2 separate regions of the Homo sapiens genome follow, and region 2 is linked to region 1. Evidence: promoter capture Hi-C in 16 types of primary human blood cells and fetal thymus (Javierre and others, 2016). All regions are on one chromosome and are shown on one strand. The core of a region is centred on a gene start or on the middle of the fragment in contact, and the rest is flanking DNA. Distances in the headings are between cores, read along the strand shown. Region 1 holds the start of RBM12B-AS1 (RBM12B antisense RNA 1). Region 2 has its middle 5.9 kb from the start of INTS8.

What was found. The method cuts DNA at HindIII sites, captures the fragments that hold promoters and counts their contacts. A CHiCAGO score of 5 or more calls a contact.
Region 2: a fragment that was not itself captured here is called in contact with the fragment with the promoter of RBM12B-AS1 in region 1 in 1 of 17 cell types (total CD8 T cells); the score reaches 6.0 in total CD8 T cells.

Annotation. Positions count from the first base shown.
Region 1 is chr8:93,737,150-93,741,861 of GRCh38, forward strand. It overlaps RBM12B-AS1 (RBM12B antisense RNA 1), which reads left to right and starts at 2,962. Exons shown (of 1, transcript NR_027259.1): 1 at 2,962-3,670. RBM12B (RNA binding motif protein 12B) reads right to left here and starts at 3,860. Exons shown (of 4, transcript NM_001377960.1): 1 at 3,732-3,860; 2 at 3,480-3,547; 3 at 158-206. RBM12B-DT (RBM12B divergent transcript) reads left to right here and starts at 3,934. Exons shown (of 2, transcript NR_183450.1): 1 at 3,934-4,310. RefSeq lists an enhancer at 3,767-3,886. The HindIII fragment of the contact is 1,858 bases long and covers 2,057-3,914 here.
Region 2 is chr8:94,815,130-94,819,715 of GRCh38, forward strand. No RefSeq gene overlaps it. Among named protein-coding and RNA genes, the nearest start is that of INTS8, 5.9 kb to the right of the region's middle. The HindIII fragment of the contact is 7,350 bases long and covers 1-4,586 here.

The DNA of each region.
Region 1 (4,712 bases), core at 1,712-4,211:
TGGGCTGCAACTGTGCCATTGCACTCCAGCCTGGAGGACAGAGTGAGGCCCTGTCTTTTTAAAAAAAAAAGAACAGAAGCCATGGATACCTAGATGTACTATTCTACTTCACATGTTTTTTGTTGAGCCTCAAAGCCTTAAACTCTGGATATCTTACCTTTTTTAAAATTTCTTGGAGACCTGTTAACTCTGTAAAAGCAACTTAACTGTGGAAAGAAAATGAAATATAATTAATCCTTGAACCCTGTAATTTATCTTAAACAACGCCAGAGTAGGATATCCATTTCAGAATTACCTATCAAAAGTGAAGCAGAATAAGGAACCACAATTACGGGTGTTACAAAATGGTCTTTTGTTCCAAGGGGAAATTAATCATCCTTCTGCAAAAAGGAGATACAATATCCAAATAGACATATAAAAATTATTTAAAAATTTGAAACTTGCCGAAAATTTAACAACTGCTCTTGATTGGAAGTAGCACGAAGAAAGGAGTGATGGAAATGTTACATATTTTGAATGCAGCAGTAGTTACATGGGTGTATAAATTTATCAAGGTTTACTGAATTCTATCCTTAGGGTCTATACATTTTGCTGTACACAAGTTTTACATCTACTTCAAAAAACTGTTCTACAAGTAAAATCTCAATACCCAAAGTTCAAAAAAAAAAAAAAAAAAAAAAGAACTTCAATCATTTTGCCACATGAAAATCCAAAAATCTAGTACATATTTATATCCAACTCTCGTGCTGTTCTCCTCCCTTTCAAAACATAAGACCAAATCAAATTAAGGCAACCATTCAAAATTACACAATAAATGAATAAAACAGCAAAGCCTGAAATTCAAAAATCAATTTTTAAAACAATAAATCCAAACCTATGGGCTATTGTTTGGATACAATTTAAAGGTCTATATAAACAGCTCATACATCCAAGCACAGAACCAAATTTCATGAAGCCAGTATAATTAAGGCAAATACTACAATATCCCTAAAGTTAAAAATCTCAATACCACTCCTATTGCAAAAATAGTAACTGTTACAATTCATCTCAAGCCAAACAGAAAATGCTATTTATCTTATTAATAATGCCAATAGCAGATTTCCATTTCAAACAACTATTCTGCACTCTACTAAGGAAACCCAAATGATGATGTAGAAAAGTAAAATTAAAAATTAACTTGGAATACTGGGATTACCCGTTTACTGAAAAATCTCAATGTAATTTTTTAAAGAAGTTTGCGTTTAATACTTTCAGGGATACCCAAACTATTTCATGAAGACTTGCCAAATAAATAATTATAATTTACACTCACTTTCTTTGGTGGGGGAGACAGGGTCTCTCTTGCTCTGCTACCCAGGCTGGAGTGCACTGGTGCGATCTTGGCTCACTACAGCCTCGACTTACCCAGGCTCAGGCAATGCTCCCACCTCAGCCTCCCCAGTAGCTGGGACTACAGGTGTGCACCACCACACCCGGCTAATTTTTGTATTTTTTGTAGAGCCAGGGTTTCACCATGTTGCCCAGGCTGGTAGGGAACTCATGGGCTCAAGCAATCAGCTCACCTCAGCCTCCCACAGTGCTAGGATTTACAGGTATGAGCCACTGCGCCTGGAGTAATTTACATGTCTTTAATGTACAAATAAATGTTGCGTTAATCCAGAATCCAGTACTTACACTTAAGTACCACTGTTCCCCAAAGTGGGGGTCTGAAGATACATTCACTGAGGTCTGTTTTCCTTTAAAAAAGGGTACGTAGATTAACCAGAAGCTAAACTAGCAAAGACATCAAATTACTTCACACATTCTACATCTGAAAAATATTAATCAGGTTTGCTATTAAAGTATTTGCACAGTAACAAAAAAAGAAAAAAAGCCTATTTTCTTCAACAAACCAATATCCATACTAACACTTCAACAAAAACTACAAATGGCTTCTGGAATACTTACTTTATCCATATTAAAGTCCCAAGACTCCCTCCTATGCAAATTGGCTTAGCTACTCTTTTTAAGATATTTTAGAAAGCACCATAAGCTATACATATTCTTGTCTCTCCTAAGCTTTTAAAAAAATTTTAACGGGATTTACCCTGGGAACATAAATTCATCTACAAGAGAAATTAGAGACGTTTCAAGGAATAATTATATCTCAAATTCAAAAAAACTCTAGTAATTTATCCTACCTCACTTAAAAACTATCTTTTAACCAAGTAGTTTCATGAGCACAAATCTCATGAATTCCAATTCAAGCAGACTATTTAGAAAGTTTATTCTCATTTGCCACAGTTAAACAAAACTAATGCTTAAACTTCTCTACCCTTGAGACAGTAGGGTAATGTACCATTTATGCCTCTACAATAACACACCTTGGAGACCAACTGTAAGAGACCAGCTCTCAAAATGGGCACTTCTGTGGTTCCAACATGCTATATTTCCTTAAGCAAATTCTCCAGAAATTCAACTCTTAACACACTAAATTACACAAAAGCAAAACACGAAAATTACCCTCAAGTAGTCTGCAATTAAAATTTTGCGTTTTTCTAGTTATGAATGCAAAAAGTATTTTTGTGCCTTTGTGTTCATTTGAAGACAATAATCTGTTAAAATTTCTATGAAAAGAAGAGTGGGTCCCTAAAAGATCACTTAAGTCAGTGAAATTTAAAGCGCATTTTAAATAACTGCTATTTTTATCCAACGATTCATCCCACTTAATCACCATTATAACTAAACAATACGTAACGTGCCTCTTCTAATCAAGACTTAAGGGGATACAGAGAGGGAAACGGGAGGGAGACAGAATTTAAATAAGTAATATCTCATCAGATCCATTTGATTTTTAACTAGCGAAGAAAAAGTCATTTTCCAGATATGGTGAGGGAGAGAATTTTTTTTAACTCTGCGACTACTTCGTAAAGCCCAAGGTCATGATGTAGCATATTCACACTCTAAACGTGAGTTTCCCCTGCAGAAAATAATCTACACCAACCCATAATTATTCTTTACGATGATCCACCTTTTATAATGTAGATGTTTAAAATAAAAACCAAAGGAATGACCAATGAGAGCCACAGTCCCTAGGAAGAACTGTAAATGAAGACGAATCCACATGGCACAGGATTTCTCCCAACATCCTCAAACGGGAATCATCCGAAGGCATCGATTCTACAGCCCAAAGCCTTTGTCCACAACTCCCAGGGGTCAGAGCTTCCTTCTTTCGCGCCAGGCCAAAGTTGCTACGTGGGATCCGATGTTGTCGCCAGACTTTCAGCCAAAATCAGCCTTCAAATTAACCTGGACCGCCCAACCTCCGTGCCTTTCCGTTACGCCGTCTCAAGGGCAAACATTCCACCCTAACTCGCCAGAGGGTGAACTGCCCCCAGATCTAACTGAAAACACTTGCCCTTCTCAAGCCTAACGAGCTGGGCCTGCAGCGCTTTTCTGCCACCACTGACTACGATGACATAGCAAAGAAAAAAATATACCTATGAAATCCTTCGAGATCTTCACTCTCAAGATCCCTGGGAAGCGCACATACACCACCACATGGAAGCTGACGGGAAAGGAAGAGTCGGTGTTTTAGCAAGAAAAGAGGGTGCCCTAACGGCAGGAGCTACGCTAGATACTGGCGCGGCCGCCGGTCCCGCCTTTCCCCGTTCTTCCGGCTTGGTCGCCCAGCCCTCCCCACCCCCGGCGCCCCGAGGGGAACTGCTTCGCACTTGGCAATAAACACACACCACTGCTGCCGAGTCGGACACACAAGGCCGGAGGCTGAGGGAACTCTTCGTCGCAGCAGCCTCCCCAAAACAGGTAGACCCTCAGTGAGCCCAGAAGAAGATGGCGCCCACTGCCCCTCCGGTCCGGACAAACGGACGTACGGTTTATCTGCCCATGCGCTCTGCAGGCGCAACCCACCACCAAGCTTGCGCACGCGCGCTGCCGCTCACCCGTTTCCCCTCGCTAGAGGAGGGGAGGCGGAGCCCCGGGGTTGGCTGAGCTTCTGCGCATGCCCAGATTCTGCCCAGCCCAGGGACCTCGACTTTCAACGGGAGAAATTCAGAGACACATTCAGGGCTCAGCCGGTAGATGTGCTGAGAATCTTCGGTAGACAACTGTCGAAGTACGGCGGACAAACTTTAAAGATTTCCAGAAGTTAAGGAAAGAGATGCAAAAGCAGAGAAAAGGCGACTTGTCTTTTCAGTGTTGCATTACTGTGTGGCGTAAAACATCTTCTAAAAAGCTCCTGTGGCCGGGCACGGTGGCTCACGTCTGTAATCCCAGCACTTTGGGAGGCCGAAGCGGGCGAATCACTTGAGGTCAGTAGTTCGAGACCAGCCCGCCCAAAAAGCGAAACCCCCGTCTCTACTAAAAATACAAAAAAGTCAGCCTGGCATGGTGGCGGGCGCCTGTAATCCCAGCTACTCGGGAGGCTGAGGCAGGAGAATCGCTTGAACCCGAGAGATGGAGGCTGTAGTGAGCCGAGATCGCACCGCTGCACTCCAGCCAGGTCAAAAGAGTGAAACTCCATCTCAAAACAAAAATAAAAAAGCTCCTGTAGACCCTAGAATACCACAGAAAAGGTAATTTTACTGCCTTAGATGTTCGCCAAGTACAATCCCAACACCTGGGGGCTTAATAAATGCATGCTTAGTCGGTTTTATAGATATAAATAACCTTGTGAAGTGTCTTTATAAATTTGTTCCCATCTTCTGGATTTT
Region 2 (4,586 bases), core at 1,907-4,406, 1.1 Mb after region 1:
AATTACCCAGTCTCAGGTATTCCATTATAGCAGCACAAAATGGACTAAGAGAGTTGGTCACTCTACCCAGTATACAAGGAAGTAGGGAGCTGTTGTGGAGAGAGGGTGAGAGGAAGTATGGTAAAATATTAACAATGGACACATTTGGGTGAAGGGGATAGGAGAGTTCTTTATACTGTTCTTAAATTTTTTTCATGTATTTACAACTATTTTTAAAAACAAACAAAAAAACCGGCTGGACACAGTGGCCCTCGCCTGTAATCCCAGCACTTTGGGAGGCCGAAGAGGGCGGATGACCTGAGGTTAGGAGCTTGAGACTAGCCTGTCCAACATGGTGAAACCCCATCTCTACTCAAATACAAAAATTAGCTGGGCGTGGTGGTTAGTCCCAGCTACTTGGGAGGCTGAGGCAGGAGAATTGCTTGAACCTGGGAGGCAGAGGTTGCAGTGAGCCGAGATTGTGCCACTGCACTCCAGCCTGGGTGACAGAGCAAGACTCTGTCTTAAAAAAATAATAAATAAGTAAATAAACAAATAGCATACAAATTTGATGGAACTTTTATTATCATTTCACTGAATCTGTAGATAAATTTGAGAATACAGTAATCAGCCTCCCTCTCTAGGAGCAGAATTTTTCTCTCCATTTATTTAGATCCTTCATGTTTTTGAATAACATTTTTATTATTTTCTTCATATAGGTCTTCCACATGCGATCTTGCCCTCATGATCTAATCACTTCCCAAAGGAGGCCCCTCCCTTCTAACCTTGGGGGTTAGTTTGCTTTCCTTTTTCTTTTCTTTTCTTTTCTTTTTTTTTTTTTTTTTTTTGAGATGGAATCTCGCTCTTGTCGCCCAGGCAAAAGTGCAGTGGTGCGATTTCGGCTCACTGCAACGTCCGCCTCCTGGGTTCAAGCGATTCTCATTACTCAGCCTCCCAAGTAGCTGGGATTACAGGCGCCCATGCCCACGCCTGGCTGATAGTTGTATTTTTAGTAGACAGGGTTTCACCATGTTGGCCAGGCTGGTCTTGAACTCCTTACCTCAGGTGATCCGCCCGCCTCGGCCTCCCAAAGTGCTGGGATTACAGGCGTGAGCCACCATGCATGGTCTAGTTTTCAACACATGAATGTGGGGGGAACACAAACATTCAGACCATAGCAGTGGTTCAATTTAACGAAGGTCATATCAGGGACCAAACCCTGGTTCTAACATTTATTCTCTGGGAGACTTTGACGAAGCTACTGATCTACTTATTCTGCTCCTAGATAAGGAGTCTCATTACTGTATTATCAAGTTTATCTATAGATTTGGTGCAATTATAATAAAAGTTCCACCAAATTTGTGTGCTATTGATTTTTTGTTTTTTAAATAGTTGTAAATCCACAGAAAAAAAATTAAGAACAATAACTTCTCTGATCCTCAGCTTCTTCAGCTGTAAGGTGAGCTCATAATTCCTACTTTCTAGGATGTTGAAAGATCAAATGAGAAAACGAGGATATAAAGGCCCTAATTTGGGTCATGGTATGTAACAAATGCTCCATAATAGTTTGTTTCTATGAGCCCATAGAATTTTTCATGGGTTTTGAGGAAATATCAGGGACTTTAAAAGCATCTATATATGGCTGGGCACAGTGGCTTACACCTGTAATTCCAGCACTTTGGGAGGCCAACGTGGGAGGATCACTGGAGCCCAAGAGCTCCAGATCAGCCTGGGTGGGCAACATAGCAAGACCCTATCTCTGCAAAAAAATAAATAAATTAGCTGGGCATGGTGGTATTCATCTGTGGTCCCAGCTACTCAGGAGGCTGAGGCAGAAGGATCACTTGAACCCAGGATGTCAAGGAGGCAGTGAGCTAAATGCCACTGCACTCCAGCCTGGGCAACAGAGAGATACCATCACAAAACAAACAAACAAAAACCAGAACGGGGTGCGGTGGCTCACGTCTGTAATCCCAGCACTTTGGGAGGCTGAGGCGGGTAGATCACCTGAGGTCAGGAGTTCGAGACCAGCCCGGTCGACATAGTGTAACCTGTCTCTACTAAAAATACAAAAATTAGCCAGGCATGGTGGCGTGCCTGTAATCCCAGCTACTCTGGAGGCTGAGGTAGGAGAATCACTTGAACCTGGGAGGTGGAGGTTGCAGCGAGCCAAGAGCGCACCATTGCACTCCAGCCTGGGCAACAGAGCAAGACTCTGTCTCAAAAAAAAAAAATACAGATAAAGTTGAAGTACCTGTGACCCCCCTCCCCCACTCCTTCCCCCCATTCACCTCTCCTCTCCCCTTCTCTAACCCACCCCTGTTCTATCCTCCTTCCCTCTTCTCTTCAGAGCCAAACACAGTAGGATTTTGATGTGCATGCCTCAATAAAATAGTTTCTCAGATTTTTTAGTCTCAGGGCCCTGTTAGACCAAAAAATTATTAAGCACTTAAAAGAGTGTTTGTTTATATTTACCATATTAAAAATTAACACTGAGAAGTTTTAAAAATATTTAATTTATTTAAATTAAAATAAAATAATCATATAAAAATAAAAATAATCCTATTACATGCTGACAAATACAATTTTATATAAAATAACTATTTTCATTTTAAAAACTAGAAGAGTGGCATTGCTCACATAGATGAGTAGTTAAAAAAAGAAGTATTTTATATCTTTTCGGATAATTATGGACTTTCTTCACCAAAACCTGAGAAAGTGGTTGTTTCTTAAAGATTAGCTGCAATTTTAAATCTGAAATCATACCAATTAACTTTTCAAATTCCGTTCCATTACAATTCATCAGTCTGTCTTGAAATTTTTTGTTTTGTTTTGTTTTGAGATGGAGTCTTGCTCTGTCGCCCAGGCTGGAGTACAGTGATGCGATTTCTGCTCACTGCAACCTCTGCCTCCCGGGTTCAAGCTATTCTCCTGCTTCAGACTCCTGAGTAGCTAGGATTACAGGCACCTGCCACCATGCCAGCTAATTTTTGTATTTTTAATAGAGACAGGGTTTGATCACGTTGGCCAGGCTGGTCCAAACTCCTGACCTCGTCATCCTCCCACCTCGGCCTCCCAAAGTGCTGGGATTACAGGCATGAGCCACCGTGCCCAGCTGAAATTTTTTATTTATTTACTTTTAAGAGGCAGGGTCTCGCTCTGTCACCCAGACTGGAGTACAGTGGCATGATCATAGCTCGCTGCAGTCTCCAACTCCTGGTTTCAAGTGATCATCCTGCCCCTGCCTCCCAAAGTGTTGGGATTACAGGCATGAGCCACTGTGCTCGGCTTGTCTTGGAATTTAAATAAATCTTTTAGCCATATATTAGGAAAATATTGATTGATTTGTCAAGTTGTGATGATCATCTGAAAGTTGACACATTTAAATATACATTTGTTAATATCGCCATTGGTGTCATCAGAAAAGTCTTGTCAAGTATTGGGAAGCTGCCAAGTTTACAGTTTTCTAAAATTCTAATTTTACTTAAAAAGTTGAATGTTGGCCAGGAGCGGTGGCTCATGTCTGTAATCCCAGCACTTTGGGAGGCCAAGGTGGGAGGATCACTTGAGGTCAGGAGTTCAAGACCAGTCTGGCCAACATGGTGAAACCCCATCTCTACTAAAAATAGAAAAATTAGCCAGGTGTGGTGGTGGCAGTGCCTGTAATCCCAGCTATTCGGGAGGCTGAGGCAGGAGAATCGCTTGAACCTGAGAGGTGGAGGTTGCAGTGAGCGGTGATAGCACCATTGCACTCCAGCCTGGGCAGCAAGAGCAAAACTCCATCTCAAAAAAAAAAAAAAAAAATTGAATGTTATTATTCGCCACAAATGGTGTTAGTTGTTTTCCATAAAGTGACATGACAGGCTCACTTTGTTCAAGAAAATGTCTGCTAAATACCCAAGTCTGAATGACCACAGTCTGTTCTCATTCTTTCTTTCTTTTCTTTTTTTTTTTTTTTTTGAGACAGGGTCTCACTCTGTCACCCACCTGAGTGCAGTGGTGCAATCTCGGCTCACTGTAGCCTCATCCTCTTGGGCTCAAGCAATCCTCCCACCTCAGTTTCCCACATAGCCAGGACTACAGACGCACACCACCATCCCAGCCTTATTTTTTATTTTGATTTTTTTGTAGAGACAGAAGTCTCACTATGCTGCCCAGATACGTCTTGAATTCCTGGACTCTCCACCTCAGCCTCCCAAAGTGCTGGGATTACAGGCGTGAGCCACTGCACTCGGCCAGTTTCTGTTGTTTTAAACCACAAAGTTTGTGGTAATTTGTTACAGCAGCCACTTGAAACAGATACAATGAGTATGTCACATTTTATTTGTCTATTCACCAGGTTATAGACCTTGGTTTCTACTTTTAGGCTACTGTAGATACTGCTGTTCTAAACATTCAAGTCTTTGTGTGGGTACATTTTCTCCTTTCTCTTGGATACATACCTAGAAGGGGAATTGCTGAGTCATCTGGTAAGCCTATTTTTAACATTTTTTTTTTTTTGAGACAGAGTTTCATTCTTGTCGCCTAAGCTGGAGTGCAATGGCGCGATCTCGGCTCACCGCAACCTCTGCCTCCCGGGTTCAAGCGATTCTCCTGCCTCAGCCTCC